7 separate regions of the Homo sapiens genome follow, and all the other regions are linked to region 6. Evidence: promoter capture Hi-C in 16 types of primary human blood cells and fetal thymus (Javierre and others, 2016). All regions are on one chromosome and are shown on one strand. The core of a region is centred on a gene start or on the middle of the fragment in contact, and the rest is flanking DNA. Distances in the headings are between cores, read along the strand shown. Region 1 holds the start of TMEM64 (transmembrane protein 64). Region 2 has its middle 4.0 kb from the start of DECR1. Region 3 overlaps OTUD6B (OTU deubiquitinase 6B). Region 4 overlaps RIPK2 (receptor interacting serine/threonine kinase 2). Region 5 overlaps OSGIN2 (oxidative stress induced growth inhibitor family member 2). Region 6 holds the start of RMDN1 (regulator of microtubule dynamics 1). Region 7 overlaps TMEM64 (transmembrane protein 64).

The links. The method cuts DNA at HindIII sites, captures the fragments that hold promoters and counts their contacts. A CHiCAGO score of 5 or more calls a contact.
Region 1: a fragment that was not itself captured here is called in contact with the fragment with the promoter of RMDN1 in region 6 in 3 of 17 cell types (total B cells, naive CD8 T cells and activated CD4 T cells); the score reaches 6.1 in total B cells.
Region 2: a contact is called between a fragment that was not itself captured here and the fragment with the promoter of RMDN1 in region 6, in 3 of 17 cell types (non-activated CD4 T cells, naive B cells and total B cells). The highest score is 7.6, in non-activated CD4 T cells.
Region 3: a contact is called between a fragment that was not itself captured here and the fragment with the promoter of RMDN1 in region 6, in 1 of 17 cell types (total B cells). The highest score is 9.2, in total B cells.
Region 4: a contact is called between a fragment that was not itself captured here and the fragment with the promoter of RMDN1 in region 6, in 1 of 17 cell types (total B cells). The highest score is 8.0, in total B cells.
Region 5: a contact is called between a fragment that was not itself captured here and the fragment with the promoter of RMDN1 in region 6, in 1 of 17 cell types (non-activated CD4 T cells). The highest score is 5.2, in non-activated CD4 T cells.
Region 7: a fragment that was not itself captured here is called in contact with the fragment with the promoter of RMDN1 in region 6 in 1 of 17 cell types (naive B cells); the score reaches 7.3 in naive B cells.

The regions. Positions count from the first base shown.
Region 1 is chr8:90,644,336-90,647,594 of GRCh38, reverse strand. It overlaps TMEM64 (transmembrane protein 64), which reads left to right and starts at 1,512. Exons shown (of 3, transcript NM_001008495.4): 1 at 1,512-2,484. The coding sequence starts at 1,690. It overlaps LOC124906712 (translation initiation factor IF-2), which reads right to left and starts at 1,154. Exons shown (of 2, transcript NR_185471.1): 1 at 962-1,154. RefSeq lists silencers at 1,106-1,515, 1,646-2,045 and an enhancer at 2,156-2,485. The HindIII fragment of the contact is 3,173 bases long and covers 1-2,842 here.
Region 2 is chr8:89,995,896-89,998,994 of GRCh38, reverse strand. No RefSeq gene overlaps it. Among named protein-coding and RNA genes, the nearest start is that of DECR1, 4.0 kb to the left of the region's middle. The HindIII fragment of the contact is 790 bases long and covers 1,068-1,857 here.
Region 3 is chr8:91,081,226-91,084,388 of GRCh38, reverse strand. OTUD6B (OTU deubiquitinase 6B) reads right to left here. Exons shown (of 7, transcript NM_016023.5): 6 at 275-381. Among named protein-coding and RNA genes, the nearest start is that of OTUD6B, 12 kb to the right of the region's middle. The HindIII fragment of the contact is 964 bases long and covers 945-1,908 here.
Region 4 is chr8:89,774,177-89,777,325 of GRCh38, reverse strand. All of the region lies in intron 6 of RIPK2 (receptor interacting serine/threonine kinase 2), which reads right to left. Among named protein-coding and RNA genes, the nearest start is that of RIPK2, 18 kb to the right of the region's middle. The HindIII fragment of the contact is 4,773 bases long and covers 1-3,149 here.
Region 5 is chr8:89,915,046-89,917,906 of GRCh38, reverse strand. All of the region lies in intron 4 of OSGIN2 (oxidative stress induced growth inhibitor family member 2), which reads right to left. Among named protein-coding and RNA genes, the nearest start is that of OSGIN2, 14 kb to the right of the region's middle. The HindIII fragment of the contact is 840 bases long and covers 1,114-1,953 here.
Region 6 is chr8:86,507,130-86,510,151 of GRCh38, reverse strand. RMDN1 (regulator of microtubule dynamics 1) reads left to right here and starts at 1,466. Exons shown (of 10, transcript NM_016033.3): 1 at 1,466-1,660. The coding sequence starts at 1,532. RefSeq lists an enhancer at 1,552-1,721. The HindIII fragment of the contact is 14,106 bases long and covers 1-2,922 here.
Region 7 is chr8:90,624,618-90,627,644 of GRCh38, reverse strand. It overlaps TMEM64 (transmembrane protein 64), which reads left to right. Exons shown (of 3, transcript NM_001008495.4): 3 at 1,783-3,027. The coding sequence ends at 1,974. Among named protein-coding and RNA genes, the nearest start is that of TMEM64, 20 kb to the left of the region's middle. The HindIII fragment of the contact is 413 bases long and covers 1,077-1,489 here.

The sequences.
Region 1 (3,259 bases), core at 7-2,506, 4.1 Mb before region 6:
AGCTGCTCCTCCGTGTGAGTCACAAGGCTTGGAAAAGAGAGTTGAAGGATGTAGCACTTGCCTGGCACCTAGTAGGGACTCTACCTGACTCAGCCCAACCAGGGTGGATAGGAGGGAATGGCATGGAGGAGCCTGATCAGCCAGCAAGCAGGAGCCTGATCAGCAACGACCTAAGGTGTCCTGGTCCGTTATCTGGCAGGCAACTGGGTGGAAGGTCATCCACTGAGATATGAAACCCAGAAGGAAGAGTCGGTCTATGGGGGATCACACTTTTAATGAGGGATACCATCACATAGTTAACATTTACTGACGACTGATTTCAGGCATAGTGCTAATCACCTTACTTTACTATTTTGTTTAATCCTCACAACACTCTTACGAAGCTAAGTTGTACCATTATCTCCATTTTGCAATTTAAAAAGAAACAATGAGATTCAGGGACTGATTGTTTGACCAGTTACTAAACGTGATTTGCACCAGAGCCCAAGTTGATCATCTATCTACCAAGCTCTGCTGAGTTTGAGCTGCCTGCAGAATTCCACCTGGATGTGTCCACAGGCCGGACCACAAGCTGGGAAGTGTGGGCAGAGACATTCACTTAGGGGTCACTTCTTATGGGGGGCACGGCAGGATCAAAGCTGTTGGGCCTGGATGAGATGGCTCAGGAAACTCTGAAAAGGAAGACGGCAAGAGGACCTGGGGAACACTAACCTTAAACAGGCGGAAAGAGGAAAAGAAACCAGCGAATGAGTTTGAGAAGCTGCCCTCTGAGAAAGCGAACTCTTAAAAATGTCCTTCAGTGAATCTTTTTCAAATGCCCCTAGACCAATGCCTGGCACTCGATAAAGGACCTCTGGAGTCAGAAGGGGCGTTCTGTCAAGGGGGTGGGGGGACTTTATGCCTAATTTTTCCAGCTCCTAAAGGACCAAGCCATATGAAACCCACAGGGAGACCTCGATACCTGGGAGGCAAGTCTGAGACAAGAATAGGGTCAAGGACCATAGCCAAACCCTCCTCAGAACACAAGAACTCTTTCCCCCATTCGACAGGGCAGCGGCGGATGTGAGCGCCACTCACAGCTGCCCGCTCTGATAAGAGGTTACTGCGGAAACGACCAGGAGGGAACGGGCGAGGATCCAAGCCGCTCACGGACTGGGGTCGCCTCGGTCCGAGAGGGGGAGCGCGCGCCCTGACACGCAGGCATGCGCGCGCCTGTGGGAAGTCGGGGAGCGCGCCTGGGCCCCTGCCCGTCGCCCGGCTCTCCCCTCGTTGCAGCCTCGCTCTCCCTAGAGCTCCTTCTCCCCTCCCAGTGGTTTCCCTCCGCAGCTGTGGGCCTCCGCTGGCCCACGCGGACGCCCCGCGACCCCCGCAGCCTGGCGGGCAGCGCGTCACGGGAGCGGACCAGAACACAGCCCGCTCCGCCCCATCGCCCGCGGCCCCGCCCCCTCTGGCCGACAAGGGGCGGGCACCACCGGAGTGGGCTCCGTGGGTGCTGGGGCAGGAGTTTCCTCACTCCCCGCCTGGCCGTCGCTCCTCCGCTGACTCCGCGCCCTTCTACGGGCCGTCTCCCACCCTCTGAGCGGACGCAGGGAGTCGATGCCGGGCGAACCGGGCGCCATGAAGGGCAGCTGCCTAACGGGCGCCGCGGCGGAGGGGCTGGCCGGCTGAGGGCCCGCGCTGGGCCGAGGCATGCGGAGCCCGGGCGGGATCCTGCTCCAGGCGCTGCCCCGGCTGCTGCAGCACGCCGCCCTCCCGGGCCTCGCCGAGCTGCCGGCCCGCTGGGCCCTGCCGCGGGGTGCGGGCGGGGACGGCCCGGCGGACCGCCTTCCCCGCGGGGGCGGGGCGAGCGCGGCGGCGGCAGCAGCGGCGGCCTCGGGCGCCCTGCTCGGCGCCTATCTGGAGCGCCACGGTCCGCCCGAGGCTTCGGAGCTGCCGGAGCCGGGCGGGGCCTTGGCGGGCGGCCCCGGGAGTGGCGGCGGCGGCGTGGTGGTCGGCGTGGCTGAGGTGAGAAACTGGCGCTGCTGCTGCCTCGGCAGCACCTGTTGGTGCCGGAGCCTCGTGCTGGTCTGCGTGTTGGCCGCCCTGTGCTTCGCTTCCCTGGCCCTGGTCCGCCGCTACCTTCACCACCTCCTGCTGTGGGTGGAGAGCCTTGACTCGCTGCTGGGGGTCCTGCTCTTCGTCGTGGGCTTCATCGTGGTCTCTTTCCCCTGCGGCTGGGGCTACATCGTGCTCAACGTGGCCGCTGGCTACCTGTACGGCTTCGTGCTGGGCATGGGTCTGATGATGGTGGGCGTCCTCATCGGCACCTTCATCGCCCATGTGGTCTGCAAGCGGCTCCTCACCGCCTGGGTGGCCGCCAGGATCCAGAGCAGCGAGAAGCTGAGCGCGGTTATTCGCGTAGTGGAGGGAGGAAGCGGCCTGAAAGTGGTGGCGCTGGCCAGACTGACACCCATACCTTTTGGGCTTCAGAATGCAGTGTTTTCGGTAAGTGGGGTCCCGCTGGCCTATCCCTCTCCAAGTCTGTTTTTGAGCGGTCTTGTGGCGGCCCTAGGAGGGCGCTCTATCAGATAAATACCAGCAGAGAAGTGACATTGACGGCAGGAGTTACGATTACTTTCCATCGCAGCCTGGGAAGTCTGTCCTACACATAAAACATACCTAACGCGGAGCCTCGAAAGAGAGTTTGTTAGATAAAAAACTAATGTTTCTTTTAGGGATGGGAATGTAATTAAAAATGAAAAGCCCTCTTAACAATAGGCATGCAGGGACATGAATGGAAATGCCCATCTTTAATACTTGTCATCTTTTGTAGCAGCTTTGGCAACATTTAGGGAGGAAAGCTTTCTCTCTTGCTTACATAAATACATCCAGGGTTTTGATTCAAGTTTTTAGCGACATGGACCAAAGGAAGTGTTTCAGTAAACAGTGGAGGAGCTAGTTGCAGACTCCAGATTTTGGAGTTTGCTAAATTTGAAATGGGCTTTTTCTTCTTCAAGTAATTGTGCTTTAATGTGATGTAAAGAAGAAAATCCTACTGTTTATCTTTCTTTCTTTGGAGGAACTTCATTTCGAAATCACGGGGTGGTGAATAAAACAGAACAGATAATCTTTTGCTCAGTTAGCATATATTTTTCTTCTGTATCTGCACCATTATAGACTCTTTTCTGTCCTTGTATTCATATGTTTTGCTTACTCAGGTTTCTATAGCTAGTGTGCATCTCCATGCAACTGATTTAGGATAGAAACACTGCTAGTGAAG
Region 2 (3,099 bases), core at 213-2,712, 3.5 Mb before region 6:
AAGGTTGAGAACATGTCTGGGAAAAAAATGCAACTCACAAGAGCATCTGTAACCTATGCTTTTTCCAAAGGGGGTTTTGGGAAATTCTTTATTTAAAAAAGAAAGAGCAAGCAGGAGAGAAAAAAAAAAAAAGGAAGAGAGGGTAGACAGTGAGGCAGATGGTTCCATTCTTTTGAGGCTCTGATTAGCCTCAGTAAATCTACATTTTACATAAGATAAAGTAAACATGTGAAAAGAGGGAGTAGAGGAAATGATGCTATGTCTTGGGATTATGAAATTACAGCTATCAGTTTGGGAACAACGACAACAAAAAAGACAGTATTGGTGACTGAGTTTCCAAGCTTAACTTTCCTTATGGCATAGTGAGTTCACAGTCCCTATATTCTGTTTTTCTTTCACAGGATCTTAGTTGCATCTGCACAATTCTTTCACCTTTGCCATATACTGTTAACTAGAAGTGAGTCACAGTTCCTGTCCATACTTAAGGGAAGGGAATTATACAGAGCATGAATTCCAGGGACTGGGACTCATGGGACCATCTTAGAATTCTGTCTACCACAACCATACATTAGACATGAAAAAGAAGTTTGCAAAAGTTTTAGGTAGACCCCCTGTATTAGTCCATTCTTGCATTCCTATAAAGAAATATCTAAGACTGAGTAATTTATAAGAAAAGAGGTTTAATTTGCTCATGGTTCTGCAGGCGGTACAGGAAGCATGGTGGCATCTGCTTCTGGGGAGGCCTCAGGAAGCTTCCACTCATGGAAGGCAAAGGGGCACACTTTTAAATGACTAGATCTCAGGAGAATTCCCTCACTATGGTGAAGATAGTACCAAGTGGAATAGTGCTAAACCATTCATGAGAAACCTGCCCCCATGATCTAATCACATTCTACCAGGCTCCACCTCCAACACCAGGCATTACATTTCAATATATGAGATTTGGGTGGGGACACACATCCAAACTACGTTACCCACACTCTACAATCTAGTCAGAGGGAAATAGCTACATAAAACACTTAGGCAGCCTGGACTCTGGGTTCTGTTTTACTGTCGTTCTCCAAGCTTGGTACAGAAGCAGAGGGTTGGAACCTCAAAGGAATAAACCAGTTAGGAAAAATATAACCACTAGGAACTGAAAATCAGAGAGGCCTCCCCTAAAGGCCTGTATAGGACTTGGTGTCCTTCTTATGATACCGAGAGGGAAGAAAGGAGACAGGGCACTAAAGATGACTAAGGTTGAATTTCCCACAATTCCCACAATCATGGAGGAATGGATAGGGCTAGGAATGGAATTTAAATAAAATAAAATAAAATGATATTACCTTCATCCTTGAATATATGGTTGAATATTTATACCACTAGCTTGTCTTGAATATGAACAGAAAAAATGGTTATATTATTTTTAATTTTTAATATTTCCTGAAATCAAAAGGCCTAAAAGTGGGGTTCATCTTGTTTCTAAGAAGAAGTTGCAACATTGGTGATATGATTTGGATTTGTGTCCCTACCCAAATCTCATGTCGAATTGTAATCCCCAATGTTGGAATTGGGGCCTGGTGGGAGGTGATTGGATCATGAGGACAGATTTTTCCCTTTGGTGCTATTTCTTCTGATTTCTTATCTGATGGTTCAGCCTTAGTGACTGGCAGACTCCTACACTCCAGCAATGGCTGCTCCCCTCACACACATGCCTCCTCTCCCCACTTTCACATCATCACCCTAGTATGGCTGCCTCTGACCCCATAATCAGGGGTCAGCTTTGATTTTGTTTTCTCAGGAAAAGTTACCTTGACTTCTACACTAATTCAGGTCTTCCTACTAGGGAAGCATCCAAGTTTGGTGGTACCTGAAGCTTATAAACTTTGGGAAGCCATTTAAGAAAAAGATTACAAAATTAGATGCAAAAATGAATATTAACTTACAATATAAGAAGAAATTAGAACAAATTACAAATTCCAAAAAATTTACAGTATCCTAAATTTCACACAAATATAAAGTAATGTTTCAAACTACTTAAATGTCTAACACATCTCTAATTGCAATTTCCGTCTACATTTCGGAGCTGCATTCTCTTTGATCACCTCTTCCTTTATTGAAGATTTTATAAGCATATTTTTAATAGAGAGAATAAGGAGTTCAAGTGCTAAATCATACCTCACACACACTTAGATTTGCCACTCATAGGACCACCACAGATTTGTATCTGGCCAAGACAGAATTTCTAAAAATTTCTATTGTATGCAATTATTATCATATTTTTAAAAAGCATGGTGCATTCATAATAGTAAACACTAAATTGTGAATATTCATGATGGGGACAAACTTCTGTTTTGACTATGCATCCATGAAACCATATCCTCTGCTAACACTTTTACATAATTTGATACTAGCTTATGGCTTCATACACTTTAAACAATTCAAACTTTGCTTCTCCTCCAATTCCCATTTACTTCCAGAGCTGAGTACCACTGGACACTTCTACATTTCAATACCACCTCTGGCCCTGCACATAAATGTCACAAGGTGGGCAGAAAGTATAGTCCAGTCTGCTGGAAGACAGCCCCACCAAAGGACAGTATAGAGCATTAACTCTATAGTGAAGTGACAACAAACCACACAAGTATTTCTGAACTGATCTAAGAAATAAATTAATTCCCCAATTCAGTTTAGCAGACACCCCAACTGCTGGTGACCACTCCAACATCATCCAACATGAGAGGAATTTTGACAGAAATAGGAATGGAAAGAGAATTATTTTAACTCCTTTTGTTAAAATAACTTACTTTTGTGAATTTTACTGGAAAAAAGAAATGGCCCTGGGGCCTTGGAAGAGCTGTGCAAGCAAGAGGCCCTGAAATTTACTAGCTTCAGGTAAATCAGCCCTTGCCTTAGCTGTATGTTTTCATAGGGCACTGAATTTCCCTTTTGGGGGCTCTTGTTACAATTGCAATTGCGTCTTTCTCTTATATATTAGCAGCTGTGGGGCGGGGTGCCTACCTTTTTAAATTTACCATCCTTCTATCCCTCATATCTAGCACAATGTTTGGTGCATGGTGAGCCATCAAACACTTTGTTGAATGAGGTACTGAGACTGTT
Region 3 (3,163 bases), core at 177-2,676, 4.6 Mb before region 6:
GGAATAAACAGGCAACATGAATGTATTTCAACTTTTAACACTTGTTGAAACTTTTAGCATTACTAATGTCAAACCAGGACAGTATACAAACTAGTCCTAAAATGTTATAACCTTTAGAAATGACTTTATTCTAAACTCACACACAAAAATAAATCGCTAGAGGTTTAAAAAATTATCTAAGTCACATATTTTAACACATATAATCTAAATTTTTTAATATTCCTTTTTGTATTAATTGTGAAAAATAAAACAGTAAAAATGTCTAGGTACTTACACAAGTATTAGTGGTTTTTTTGAATATTCTTCACCAACTATAATGGGAGGAGAATCTGCCTGTATTATCTCTATTGGTGTTTGTAAAATGTGAGACAGAGCTCTTAGCTATAGGAAGAAAAAAAGTATCAGTAAGGAAAATAAAAATGTAAATCACATTCAAATATGTGTGAACGGGCAACCAGTCAGAGCAGGGATACGCTGTGTTCACCACTGTACACAGAGAGCCTGGTATATACTGGGCACTTAATAAATATCTGTTGAATAAATAAATATAATACAGGTTGAATATCCCTTATCCTAAATGCCTGGAACCAGAATTGTTTTAGTTTTTGAATTTTTCAGATTTGGGAGTATTTGCATATACTACATGAGATATCTTGAGGATGGGACTCAAATCTAAACACAAAATTCATTCATGTTTCATACATATCTTACACACACACCATGAAGGTAATTTTATACATTTTAAATAACTTTGTGCATGAAACTAAGTTTGAACTGTGACCTGTCACATAAAGTCAAGTGTAGAATTTTCCACTTGTGATGTCAGCCCTCAAAAAATTTGATTTGGGAGCATTTCGAATTTCAAATTTTCAGATTAGGGATGCTCAACTTGTATTTATTAAATCAAATGCAGAGACTGCTCAAGCCCTGCCTGCACAAAAGCTTTGTAAAAAATATCAATGCCACAGTTAATGAAGAGGGGCAATGGGTAGACTAGGTATATTATACTAGTCTACTTTTGAATACGCTTGAAAATGTTCATAACAAAAAAAATTTTTAAATACCATTGCTCAAGCACCGGACCAAATAAATTACAATGTGAGAAAATGGGCAGGGGGAAGAACAAAATATTTATTTTTTTAAAGTTTTTCAGATGATTCTAATCTACAAATACTGTTGACAACCACTGTTCTATAATTTTCAAAGAGTAGAATATGTATATGAATTGTACTGCCCTATCAATGAATTTCTATTTGATTAAAATATACAATTTTAAGTAATTTCATACCATACAATATAAAATTAGAGCCTAAAGCCAGATGAATAATGGTGAATATTGAACATTAATGCTAACATTTTTAAAGACTTATTATGATTACGGGCCAGGCACAGTGGCTCACACCCATAATTCCAGCACTTTGGGAGGCCAAGGTAGGCAGATACCTTGAGTCCAGGCATTCGAGACCAGACTGGGCAACATGGTAAAACCATGTCTCTACAAAAAAATACAAAAATTAACCAGGCATGATGGATCACTTGAGCCCGGGAGGCAGAGGTTGCAGTGAGCCAAGATCACGCCACTGTACTCCAACTGGGGTGACAGAGTGAGACCCTGTTTCAAAAAAAAAAAAAAAAAAAAAAAAGACATATGACCAAACACTCAAGCATTTTAAGTACTTTATGTGTATTAATTCCTTTAATCCTCTCAATAACTTTATGGGATGGGTACTGTCGTTATTTTAAAGACCTAGAATCTGAGGCAAAAAAAGGGTTACAAGACTTGTCAAAGTCACTTGAACTCAGGCGTTCGAGACCAGCCTGGGCAACACAGGGAGACCCCGTTTCTACAAAAAATACAAAAATTAGCCAGGCATGGTGGTGCAGCTACTCAGGAGTGGGAGGAAAGCTTAAGCCTAGAAGATTGAGACTGTAGTGAACAATGATGGGTGGCACCACTGCACTCCAGCCTGGGTGACAGAGTGAGACTCTGTCTCAAAAAGAAAGTAAAAATCATAATGCCCCGATCTATGGGGGCACTATGGGATATGTACTTGCCCCATTACAAGAACATTCCATTGATGAACATACTCCTTCCTGAGGTTTTGAAAGAATTTAAGAAATTACTTCAAAAATATGGAAAGCACTCTGCTGCATGGTGGTAAATCAAAAACGTTCCTTTGAGGTACATTTTTCTTATACCTAAAATATCATTTTTAAGAAACTAGCATAGAATAGAGGATGCGAACCAAACTCTGGGAATCCTACTATGCCTTCTAACTTCAGAGATCATAGAATGATTTTCTTTAATAACTTAAATTTACTCTATTGTGAAAACTGCAACTCTTACTTCAAATGAATTCACAGATGAAAAAAATGTATAAGTGTCCCTCAAAAGATGTTTTAAAAGGTTTTTCTTAATTTCTTGATTTAATCTCTAATACTCATATGAATGATCCTTTTAAGAAAGTTCAAGCATTTTTAATTATTCCTAATGTAGTAGTAACAAAGCTACTATGAACATTTCCTGAGTTTCCGAGGCATACAAAACTAATGGATACAGTTCCCTCTGGTGGAAATGCACATACACAGCAGTACTAAGAAAAAGATTTTGGGGCAACATTCATGTTGCATCTTCAAATGAAGCAGTTCTTAAAGTGAATTATTTAGAGCCACAGACTATTCATGATGATTAATCATCATTATATATTACTAATCGTACTGCCTAGGTTCATCCATCTGGCACTTCAGCTTACAAACTTTTATGCAGGTACTCTCTGCCTTACTTAATGCTCAAAAATGCTCAACTGAATACACAGAGAGGGTTTATTATGGCCATATAGTAATCAAGAAACTCAAGCTTGGGAGGATGGCTGACTCCCCTGTGGCCACAAAACAGAGGGGTGGAAGAAAATGCCAGGACCTGAACCCAGAACTTTCTTTCTTATCCTATTTAATACCCAGGCTGCTTCATCACCATCTGGCCTACCTACCTGTTTTTTTTGTTTGTTTGTTTGTTTTTAACAAAACAAAGTTAACAGTAAGATTTTTTTAAAATTAGAGCTAAAAAGTAATCTTGATAACTTCCTGTAAGTGACTGAACATACTGTTTTCTTACATATGAATTTAATGCACCAACTACTGCTTTCAAGTAAGTCAGTCACTA
Region 4 (3,149 bases), core at 377-2,876, 3.3 Mb before region 6:
CCAAATCGTAATTTCTTCTTTCTGTGAAAATTCTAGATCCTCTAAAGTTCATGCCATTAGGCAATACTTACTTCTCTGCAAACTTCTCCTTTCTCCTATGCTCAAGATTTTGGCTTTTGGCTTACTGACTTCACCCTGTACTGATCAGTGCTCCACTGAATACTTGAGAGGAACCCTCTGAAATCTCTGGGGTTCTCACTCTGTGTACCTTTTCCCTTCTGGTGCAATGTCCTATGAAGTCTGTCTGCCTTGGTCTACCCACACTGTCATCCCTGTTTCCTTGACCCTGAGTGTCCACTGGGTTCCACCTGTTTCCTCTCCCCATGCTGCATCTAGAAACTCTCAAGGCAGGAAGCTGGGCAATCGGAAGGCTCACTTCATTTGTTTCCCATCCATCAGAGATTGCTGCTCTTTGTTTCCTGATATTTAGTGTCTTAAAAACCAGTTTCACATATTTTGTCTAGGTTTTTTGGTTGTTTCAGGCAGGAGGGTAAATTGGCCCCAGTTACTCCATCTTGGCCAGAAGTGGGGTCGCTGGTTTCTCTAAATTAACGGCCCAAACTAGACACTAAATACCACTTCTCAGCAATCCTATTTTGCTTCCTAAATACATCTACTATTCTGTTCTCATAGATAAGTGGTTCTTAAAGTGTGGTCCAGGGACCCCTGGCGGGGGTGGTTCCTGAGGGTTCATGAAGTCAAAACTATATTCAAAATAACAAGTACTAAGACATTATTTTCCCTGTTCACTGTCATCCCCAAACAAGTATATAGTGGATTTATCCAGAGGCCCATAAATAAGGTGTGATAAGATCACTGCTTCAACAGATAATGGAATGTGTTCTTGTATATTCCTACATTTTAAAATTCCTTGGTTTTAATTTCTAATACAGTAAATGCTAATAGATATTACCCACACATACAAAAGCTCTTTGAAGTCCTCAATAATTTTGAAGAGTCTTGAGATCTAAGTTTGAGAATTGCTGTCTTACATAATTATCTCGTACTGTTGGAGGAGACACTTAAGTCCTTTTCTTCATGTTTCCAACAGGAAGATGACATTTCCAGTTCAATCCTCAGGAAAGAGAAGTATAGGAGGAATTCTTCCAGCTCCTTTCTGCCCCTCAGACTTACCTCATTTATTAAACTTGGAGAAAAACTAAGCATGCTTATTTGGTACCTTTGCAGTTTTCTCCTTCTTTTAAAAGTCAGCTTGCCTAAAGAATGCATACATTTTCTGCTTCCCTATGTAGAAGCAGGGTGAGGCCTGTGGTGGGCTGGTAAAGCTATCAACTGTAGGGGTAAAATGCTACTAAGCCCATTTGGCTGCAGATCTAAAGGTACATTCTCCAATTAGCTTTATCAGTAATGAAACTGATATTCTGATCAACATCTATCTTTCTTCCTCGGCTTTTTCTTAATATATTCTGAACTTAGAAAGGGAAGGCAGGGGTAATAGGCATTGTACTTTATCTTCCCTTTTTCAGCCTCTTACATCCCATCCTCCATGTTTCCTTTGAGCTAGCTGATCATCTGCTCTCATACTACACTGAGAAAATAGAAGCCATGAGAGGGAATTCCTTCAGGGTTCTATAACCAGATCTACAAACTTCTTGTACTTGTATCCATCTCTCCAACCTCATTTCTCTTACAGTAGAAAAAAGTGTCCATATACTCATACAAATGTAAACAGTATCACTTGCATTCTGAATACCATTTCCTCCACCTCTCCAGCATTCTGTTTCTGATACTCTCTCTCAGTTCTTGCACTGACAATCTCTGACTCTCTACTGGATCATTTTTTCCAGTAGAGTATTTTTTCCAGATAAAGTAATCTATCTTTCTCCAGGATTTTTTTTTTTTATTTAAGAAACAGCATTTTGCTTTGTCAGCTAGGCTGGAGTGCAAGTGCAGTGGCACAATCAAGGCTCACTGCAGCCTCAACATTTTGGGCTCAAGCAATCCTCCTGCCTCAGCCTCCCAAGTAGCTGGGATTACAGGCAACGAACCATGTCTGGCTAATTTTTTATTTTTTTTTTATTTTTATTTTTGTTGAGACAAGGTGTTGCTGTGTTGCCTAGGCTGGTCTGGAACTCCAGAACTCAAGTAATCCCTCTGCCTTGGTCTCCCAAAGTGCTGGGATTACAGGCATGGGCCACTGTGCCTGGCCATAGGAAAAAATTTTGACCCCATATCATCCTTTAGCTATCACCTCATTTTTTTCTGCTTCTGTTCAGAGCCAAGCATCTTGCTGGAATTTTCCATATTTGCCTTCACTTCTTTCTATTTTTTTTAAATGTACATCAGTCTTCTGTTTACATCTCTCTATTAAAACTCCATTTGTTTGGATTACCGGTGATGACAATGTTGGAAAATCCTGCTTATCTCATTTGGCCTCCTGGCAGATTAAACATGTCCGACTATACCCCTCCTTGACTTCCAAGACACAAGGACTACACTCTCTACTGTCTTCTCTTCCTTAATCCTTTTTCTTCTTCCTCTTCTCAATTTCTAAGTGCTGGAATGCCTCAGAGCTTTACTATGGGTCCTCTCTTTGCTATGTATATTCCCTTCTTAGATGAACCAGTCCAGACTATCAATATGTTAGTGATGTTCAATTTTATATTAGGATCCTGGACTCTTCCTGGAACAACAGATTCATGTATTGTTGTAGTAGTAGCAGCAGTAATTATGACCGTTTCTACTTGCTGGCTATTATAAACAATGCTGCTATCACTAATCACATACAACTGTGTGAACATATGTTTTCATTTCTCTTGGTTTACCTGTTAGTGGATTGCTTGGTTGTATGGTAAATTTATCTTTCATTTTTAAGAAACTGCCAAACCGTTTTCCAAAGTGGCAGCATCATTTTATATTCCCACCAACAATGTATACGGATTTTGGTTCTGCCACATCACTGTCAACACTTGTTATTTTCTGTCTTTAATTATAGCTATTTTGTGGGTATGAAGTGGTAACTCATTGCAGTTTTAATTTGCATTTCCAAATGACTAATAATATTAAGCATCATTTTATGTGCTTTTTAGCTATTTGTATATCTCCCTTGGTGAAATTCAAATCTTTTACTCATTTAAAAATAGGGCTATATGTCCTATTATTGACTTGTCAGGGTTTTTTATATATTC
Region 5 (2,861 bases), core at 284-2,783, 3.4 Mb before region 6:
ATTGAAGATATAAAAGAAATGGGGAAAATCAAATAAATAATGTTCTTGGGAAGACAGGGATCCAGAATGTGGCTGGAAGGTGAGCCTTAGTAGTAATATCTCTTCCATTATAACAGGGGATTAAAAAAAAAGAATTTGCATCAATGTGTAAGTTTTCGGTTTGAGTGTGAAATTGTGGAAGTTCAATCCTAATGGATTACATTTTATCTGTAAAATAAGAACCAAGACCACTTCTAAGCATGAAAGAAAAAAAAGAGATAAAGGTTTGAAAAGAAGTTAATAAGGAAATATCAAAGGTTATAGTAGTGTTTTGGCCCCAACTGAGAGTGGAGAATATTTTCACAGTTGTATAATTTTTTTTCTGGGGGTCTGACTGCTCAAGTGTAAGAAAAGATAAAGTGGATAGTTAGATGAATTGCCTGTATGACAAACCTATGTGACAGAAGGACAATGGGTTAAGGGAATTAAAGAGAATAGTTAACTCCATGGACTACAGAAGCTGGGCTGGGTAAGTAAGGATATGAAGATCACAGCCTGGAGCACGCTCTGTGTTCAAAGATTATCTATAGTGTGAATTAACTGGGTGATAAGCTTGAAGAACAGGAAACTGTGATCAGAAAGGAAGACATTTGAGAATTTAGGTTTTTACAAGTTGAGTAGTTATGACAGATAAGATCTACAGTGGAGCCACTGGAGTGAGTAGCTAATGAAGAATACATCATCATCAAGAATGAGGAGACCAAGGAACAAAAAGGTTAAGATCTTGGTTCTGTGTCATGTTTGTAGAGGTAAAATTATTCAAGGTGGTAACAAAACTTGGGATATAATGGAAGACCCATGAATTAGGTGCCACAGATTCAGTAACTGGAGACAGTCTGGAATGGTAAAAAAGCCAGAAATGGAGACAGTCTGGAGACAGTCTGGAATGGTAGAAAAGCTAGAAAATGGCATCATCTGTTCAATGGAACAGGGCTTTTTACACAAGTGCATAGGGGTGTGAAGAGAAGACCAACCTTACTAGCCAACCTGATGGGACATAGGGCTATGGGAGAATGAATAGGCTCCACTTCAGAGGGCTACAGTGGGAATGGTATCTTTAGGAAAGAGTAAGCTTTCAAGAAAGGGAGCAGAAGCAGCATCTGACAGAATGGTTAAAGATGTGGGAAAGCAAACAAGTTGTTTATCACAAAATTGGTTCAAGGGGCCACAGAAAGTTTGGAAGAGAGAAGAGTGATGAGAAACTAGATCACAAGAGAAACAGAGAACTATATGAAGCTAAGTAGGAGAGAGGGGTGATGACTCAAGGAGTTTACGTCTTAAGTCACAACTCAGGTTAATTAGGATGTACATAAACCATAGCAGGGGAGATGGTCGCATAAACAGATAAATAGTACCACAGGCAAGCACAGTAAGATTAAGATATGGAATGCAGGTAGGATCAAGTAATTATGTCTGGGAACATTAGGAACCTTCACAGAGGTGATGACTGGCAACTGGTACACAGCTGAAATATTACTTACAGCCCTATTTTAGTGAATACATGCCTGAAAAAAATCAGCAACTTTTAGGTATATTTTAACCTTTATCACTGGCTCAAAATGTGTTTTTAGTAATCAGGGTTTATCCATACTTTCTAACTTTTTTATACATAAGTGAAAGAAATGAAACAGATCAATTATCGCCTGCACAACTCATCATTCTTCTAAGCGGAAAAAATGTAAGTAAAATAAAACCTCAGGAATTCAGAGAAGGCAGTCTAAATGCCCTCCCCACTTCCAAATACATTATGGCTTTTTTTAAAATTAAGAATGCTACTAATTAACAGAGAAAATATAAACACTTAAGTTTTGGGCATGATAGAATTCTTTCTTATCTTGTATTGGTGGTTTCACAGTTACAGGCATTTGTCAAATTATACACTCTAAATGGATGCAGCTTATTGTAAATAAAGCTTAAAGTTGATATGAAAAAGTAAAAATCATAAAACTTAAGCTAAAAGCAACAAATAATTTGGTAGTTGCTACTCATTATTAAAAAGAGAATAAAGATTTTAAAAGAAACCCATGACGTATTTAATCTAGGAATGTCCCGATACCCTGAAACAGTCATTTTATAAACGTAAACAACTTTTCAGATGTGCAAAACTGCACTAATACACGAACAGCCAACCGAAGTTTGTACTAAAAATTTGGTATGTAATATGTTAAAGTTCCCATGAAGTCTGTAATTCATAACACAGCAAACTAAATTACTTAACATCAATTTGTATAACAAATGAACACTCACTACACACTAGACACAGTGTTAACTGCTAAGAACACAGGAAGGATGAACAATTATTACTTACTGGCCCCCTAATGAAATGCACTGAGTGAATCCTTAATTCACTGGTTCTCTGGTTTAACCTCTGCTATGAACCGAATTGTATCTACCCTCAAAATTCTTACGTTGAGGTCCTGACCCCCAATGTGATGCTTTTGGAGATGGGGCCTTTGGGAGGTAAGTAGAGCTAGATGAGGTCATGAGGGTAGGTCCCTCAGAATGGGATTACTGGCTTCATAAGAAGAGAATATTTCTCTCTCTCTGCTATGTGAGGACACATTGAGAAGGCAGCTATCTGAAAGCTAGGAAGAGGGCCTTTACCAGGAACTGAACTGGCTGGAACCTTCATCTTGGGACTTCCAGCCTCCAGAACTGTGAGAAATAAATATGTTGTTTAAGCCATCAATTCTATGGCATTTTGTTATCGCAGACAAGCAGACTAACACAACCTCTTTTACATTTTTCATTTAAGATTCTGAAAATGTAAGAAAATAATGGATACTGCTTTGAAATACTATGTGAGATTATGTAAAGTCTAA
Region 6 (3,022 bases), core at 217-2,716:
GATATGTAAAGAAAGATAAAGCAAATGTGAGAAAAAGGTAACAATGGCTGAATCTAGCTGAAGAATATATGGGAGTTCCTGCAACTTTTCTTAGGATCTAATTTTTTTTTCAAAGCTAAAAACTTAATTACAAATTCACTCTAGCAGAGATATCAGAAACTTAATTTCACTGTTATCATGGTATCCAGTGGCATAAACATTTAGCAATGTTGAGGGGGTAGCTGCCAGTAGAAATGCATAAAATAAAAGTGATTCTGTCTTTGGGAAAAAACAGCTAGGTTTCAGAAGTTGGGAAGGAGATCTATATATTTTTAAAGATAGACTTTAAAGACATAATCCTAAAGAAATACAGCTGATTTAATGGGACTAGTGGAGGTAGCAATCATATAGTAGAAGGAGCACTGGACTCAGAGTAGAAAGACATGGATTCCTGTCTTCTAACATATCCTTGGTTAGGTTAATACATCTCTTTGAGTTACAGTTTTTTCATTTGTAAACCTGGGATACCACTTACTTCACAAGGTAGTTCGGAAGATCAATACGACTATGTATTAATTCCCTATACAGTATTAAAAGTACCATAGAAATGCAACCTAATTTTTTAAAACCATGACTCGCCTCCCTTATTACCCATAAGATTTTTCGTTAAACCCATATAGTAGGTACTCCCTTTGCAGTCTGTGTTTCCACCCACCCTGATCAGGCCTCAAGTAGGATCCAAAATTTCTTCATTTTCCCACAAAAGAATTCCACTCGAGCAAGAAATTTTATTTTACTCGAGTAAAATAAAATACTTTGCTCGAGTAAGTAAAACATCTTATTGAAGAATTTTAGGGGAGACCAGGGTTTGTTTTTGTTTCTGTTTTTTACTACACATGCCCTAGCATTCAAGGGCATCAGTATCCTTTCCAGAGGCCTCCTCCCGCTAGTTCCTCTTCCCAAAACGCTTTGCATTTTTTGTTTCTTTGCTCTGGACTCTCTCTTGAATCTACCCCCTTGAGTCGCTCAGTCGAAGAGACTGAGACTTTCCCTTCTTCATGTTGGGCAACATAATTCTTCCAATTATTTACTTCCAAAAAAGACCCACTAGTACCAAGATTCAATCTACTTTTGAAGGCAGCAGATAATTAAAATGACAATTTTTTTTCTGGCATACTTGTATTCTCGGGTCTATTTCCGAGCTTTCAGTTCTATTCTGGCGACGAATCCTTGTGCCCAAACCATGAAAGACCCCCTAGAGAGATGGAGCAGAAACAAGTCAGAGCGCCTGAAGAGAGCGCTCTCACGGCCTCAGTCCTGGACGCAGGCGCGGAAAGTCCATTAAGTCCCACCCAATCGGGGTATTTCCCACCCCCTAAGCCCGTGCACCGGAAACCATGGGGGCGGAAGAGGTGCTGGGCAGGAGGCGGAAGAGGTGCTGTGCAGGAGGCGGGCGGGCGCGGTTCTTTCCGGAAGGATTGAATCTCCTTTAGCCCCGCCCGCCTCCGTAGCTGCCTGAAGTAGTGCAGGGTCAGCCCGCAAGTTGCAGGTCATGGCGCTGGCTGCTCGACTGTGGCGCCTTCTGCCTTTCCGACGTGGAGCCGCCCCGGGGTCTCGTCTCCCTGCGGGGACTTCGGGCAGCCGCGGGCATTGCGGCCCCTGTCGATTCCGCGGCTTCGAGGTACCCCCGTGGTCCTGGCTCCCGCTCCTCACTTCCTACTCAGTGGGTTCCGGCTCCCCCTTAACTTAAGTGGTGGCGGCCCCGCGCTGCCTAAGGAATGTGGTGAACCGAGGAAAGAACTCGGGGCCACTGTGCCTGGAACGCCCGGACAGGTCCCTTCCATTTTGCAAACCTCCACTATCCTTAACTGGGGCTGTCAGAGAAGGAGTGGGGTTTGCCCCCACGCGCCCCAGAAGCTGCCTGCTACCCGCCCTTCTTGTGCGAAATGTAAAACAGGACGGGAAAGAACCTTGACCGCTGTGAAATTATTCTCCCTGTAGGCGATGACAGATACAACAGCGCTTGAGGCTGCCCCTTTCAGACTTTGAAAAGTGTGGTGTGTGATTTAAAAAGTTCTACGACTCAGAAGCAGAGATTTCATACTGTTTAGGTTTTTGTTTAAAAATGTTTATTTCTCAGTTGCCCGTTGTATCTGCATAACGTCAATGAAGGTTGTCGGCATGTTGTAGTCTCAGTTCTGGTATTTCTATTAGACTGCTCGTGGGCCTCTGTTTATTCTTGTCAGGGAATTGGAATGGCATTAATGCATATGATATATTTCACATGAACTAGGGGTTTCATTATTTTAAACTCAAATTTTTAACTGCTCAGTTAAAATCTTTCAGAATTATTATGGGACTGATGGTGGGGAGGGGTGGTTAAAATTTGGCATATTCCCCTTCCTTGGAAGTTTATAACCAAATGGGGAGGTTATAGATAATATAGGCAGAGAGATGGGAGGAGTTCTAAGTATGAAACTAGTTAGCCGTAAGTTTTCAAATTGGAACAATGATGAGTTTGAAGTCCCATTTTAGGCCTGGCCCCTTGGCTCAGCCTGTAATCCCAGCACTTTGGGAAGCCGAGGCGGAAGGATTGCTTGAGTCCAGGGGTTTGAAACCAGCCTGGGCAACACAGTGAGACCCTGTCTCTACAAAAAAATTTAAAAGTTAGCCATGTACATTTTTATATGTAGTAATTACTATATATGATAATCTTGTCTGTAAGATTCATTTTTATTATGTGTTGGTGTCTCATATTTTACTTCATACAATTTGCAATATCCATGCATTTGCAAATAAGTTGTAGCAAATAAGTTGTAGCTCTTCCTTTCCAGCAGGAGTGTGATTTTTAGATGAGCGGCGACTCCAGGGGATATCTTTTTCTCAATAAGATACGCTTTGAGATAGTTTTACTAAAGATTTTGATGAAGTAATTTTTAAGCTTCCAGTATTATGATCGATTGCTTTGGGGGTGGGAGAAAATTCATGTAATTTTTGCTTGGGGTAGCAGTACCTTCAAATTTTCAAAGTTTGTAACTCTTAA
Region 7 (3,027 bases), core at 34-2,533, 4.1 Mb before region 6:
CCTCCGCCTGCCCTCATCCTACTCCCCAGCACTTGTCTTTAGCTCAGCCCTCTTTCCATAGCTTCAGACCCCTTCACTGACATCCATGAACTTTTTTGGATATCTAAGAGGCACCTCGAATTCAGCATGTCTTAAACAGAAGGTAGCATCTAATTCACAAAGCACCCGCCCCCGCCCCCATATTTTTTTCATCTCTTTACATGGTGTTTCCATTTGTTGATACATAGCAAACTTAGGAGTTTTCGGTAAATATATCTTGTTTCTTTTAAGAGAAGTAACAGAAAACAGTTACAGAATTTAAAGACCCAGCTTTAAGATGCCTAACTTATTTACGATTTTACTGAGTGATGGGTACTCATTTAATGGCACCCCCTTGTGCAAGTTCCAAGTTCCTCCCCTCTCACACTTACCATACCCCCAGTATGCTCTGCTTCTGTTATCTCCTCCCCCAACCACCCTCAGCACTTGGATTTAGAATACTTTCCCTTTAAAGCTTATGTTATAATTATGGGTAGATTTCATTGAAATTGTATTATATTTCCGTATCACTTTTGGTTACAGCAGCCTTTGTAAACTTGCTGGGACATTAAATAACACCTGCTGTGTTTGCTCCAAATCCTAAAGAACTGATTTACAAATGAACTTTGGAATAAAACTCATTTAGAAAATGTACACTGCTTAGACATTCTGAGGAGCTGTACATAGAATGCTAAAGTTGGCCGGGCACTGTGGCTCATGCCTGTAATCCCAGCACTTTGGGAGGCTGAGGCAGGCAGATCATGAGGTCAGGAGTTTGAGACCAGCCTGGCCAACATGGTAAAATCCCGTCTCTACTAAAAATACAAAAATTAGCCAGGCGTGGGGCGCATGCATGTAATCCCAGCTACTCAGGAGGCTGAGGCAGGAGAATCACTTGAACCCGGGAGGCATAAGTTGCAGTGAGCCGAGATTGTGCCACTGCACTGCAGCCTGGGCGACAGAGCGAGACTCCATCTCAAAAAAAAAAAAAAAAAAAGAAAGAAAAAAAAAGTACAGAGGGACCACAGCTTCCTATAGGACAATGAGAAACTGAAGCTTCCCTAAATCACACATCACTAGTGAATAGCTAAGCTAAGACTAGAAACCTGACTTTCAATTTGATCAGTGTGATGATTTTTCTAGTATCCCTTTGACTAACATTTTTAAATAATCATCATGTTTTCCTCTGATTTTGTTTTTTCCTAAGTACAGGCAATTACTTGTTCACAATCTCTTGTTAATTCTTTGGAAGTTTATTGGCATTTCATTTTTTTAAGTGGTCTGTAATACTTTTAATTTTGTCTTCACCAGGTAGTTCATTGCAAATAGTAGTGCTTCTCACTAAGTGGGCTTAGAAATACCTATGGACATTTATAGTCATGCAAAGGTATAATACTACATTAATTATACCAACAAAGTTTAGCCAGCTGTTACCTCTATTGTAGACATTTTTTATTCCTTGAAGAAAGCTTTTTGGTACAAAGAGACAGGTTTGGCTTGTATCAAGTGAACCAAAAGGAATGTGTGTTTTCCTAATACCATGTCATGGTTACCTGTAGACTTTGGTCCTCCACTACCAGGAGAAGCAGCAAAGGAAAGAATAAACAATAACTGTGTGTAAACTATTTAAAAATGTATAACCCTTTACCTACCATCTTTGAGAAGCACCCTGTTTGAAGCATTTCTAAGCCAAATATTTATTGGATTTATTTCTTTTTTTTGTATAAAATATTGATAACTGTAATGTTTTATTTTTATTCACAGATTATTATAAGTATAGGCCTCATGTTTTATGTAGTTCATCGAGCTCAAGTGGAATTGAATGCAGCTATTGTAGCTTGTGAAATGGAACTGAAATCTTCTCTGGTTAAAGGCAATCAACCAAATACCAGTGGCTCTTCATTCTACAACAAGAGGACCCTAACATTTTCTGGAGGTGGAATCAATGTTGTATGATTCTAATGAGATACGTGATTGTCAAGAGCCTAGTGTGCTATCTAAGGTCTAGCAGTCACTTCACTAGTGGGCAGAGACAAGTTCTAATTGTATTACAGCACAAACAAAACTGACTAGTTTTTAAATTGCACAATTTTTTTTTTTTAAAGCAAGAATCATTTTCTGGGTATGTAAGTGTAAATGTAGATGCAAATTTGGCTGCACCTCTTTATCATGCCTGTATTGGCCTATAGGTCTGCACTTTAGTGTTTTTTAATTGTTTTATTTCTGTGTATTTACGAACAGAGAAATAACCCAAATATTATTTCTGCTTAGTGTCTTTATTTATAAAGCCCATGAGTAGTTTGTATGCATCTTTCCTACTTGTAAAGATGAGTAAAAGTATGCAGTTTTAAATTTATAATATTATTGGATGTTCTTTGCTTTGGTAGTCTTTCCAGAAAGGATAAACAGTGGTTTTTGTTTTGTTTTGTTTTATTGTTTAAGTGGGACCACTTAGCTTCCCGTTTCCTTACTAGTTAAAGAACAGACATTAATTTTCAGTTGAATGTATTTTTGCAGGCATCATATTGTTACAGGGCCATTTACACCTATTCACAAAGCTTAAATCCTACCTTGTGGGACTGAAGTGCTCTTAATATAACTGTTTATTTTCACTGTGTAATATGCAAAGCAAAAGGGAAATTATTTGGTGGATGGTAGCTCAAAATTGGAACTCTTGTTCTAATTCAGTTACATTGGCTTTACCCTCCTTAGATTTTTCATCAAAGGGCTGTCCCATTGCAATCTTACTAAAACATTTTGTTAAAATAAACTCTTTTCCTTTTTATATTAATAATTAGGCTTTTAAATAAAGATGTTATTCCTTTAAAATGGTGGGCTTACCATCATTGAAGATGTCACTCAGGTGGCCTTGTTTGATCAAAACGCCTTTTTTAAAAACCAAGCTTTAAAAACATGTTTATAATTTCATGAAGTACATATATATTGTTCCCATAGTCTTCAGCTTTAAAACTATAAATATGCCCAAATTTTGTTATTTGCCCTACTTTA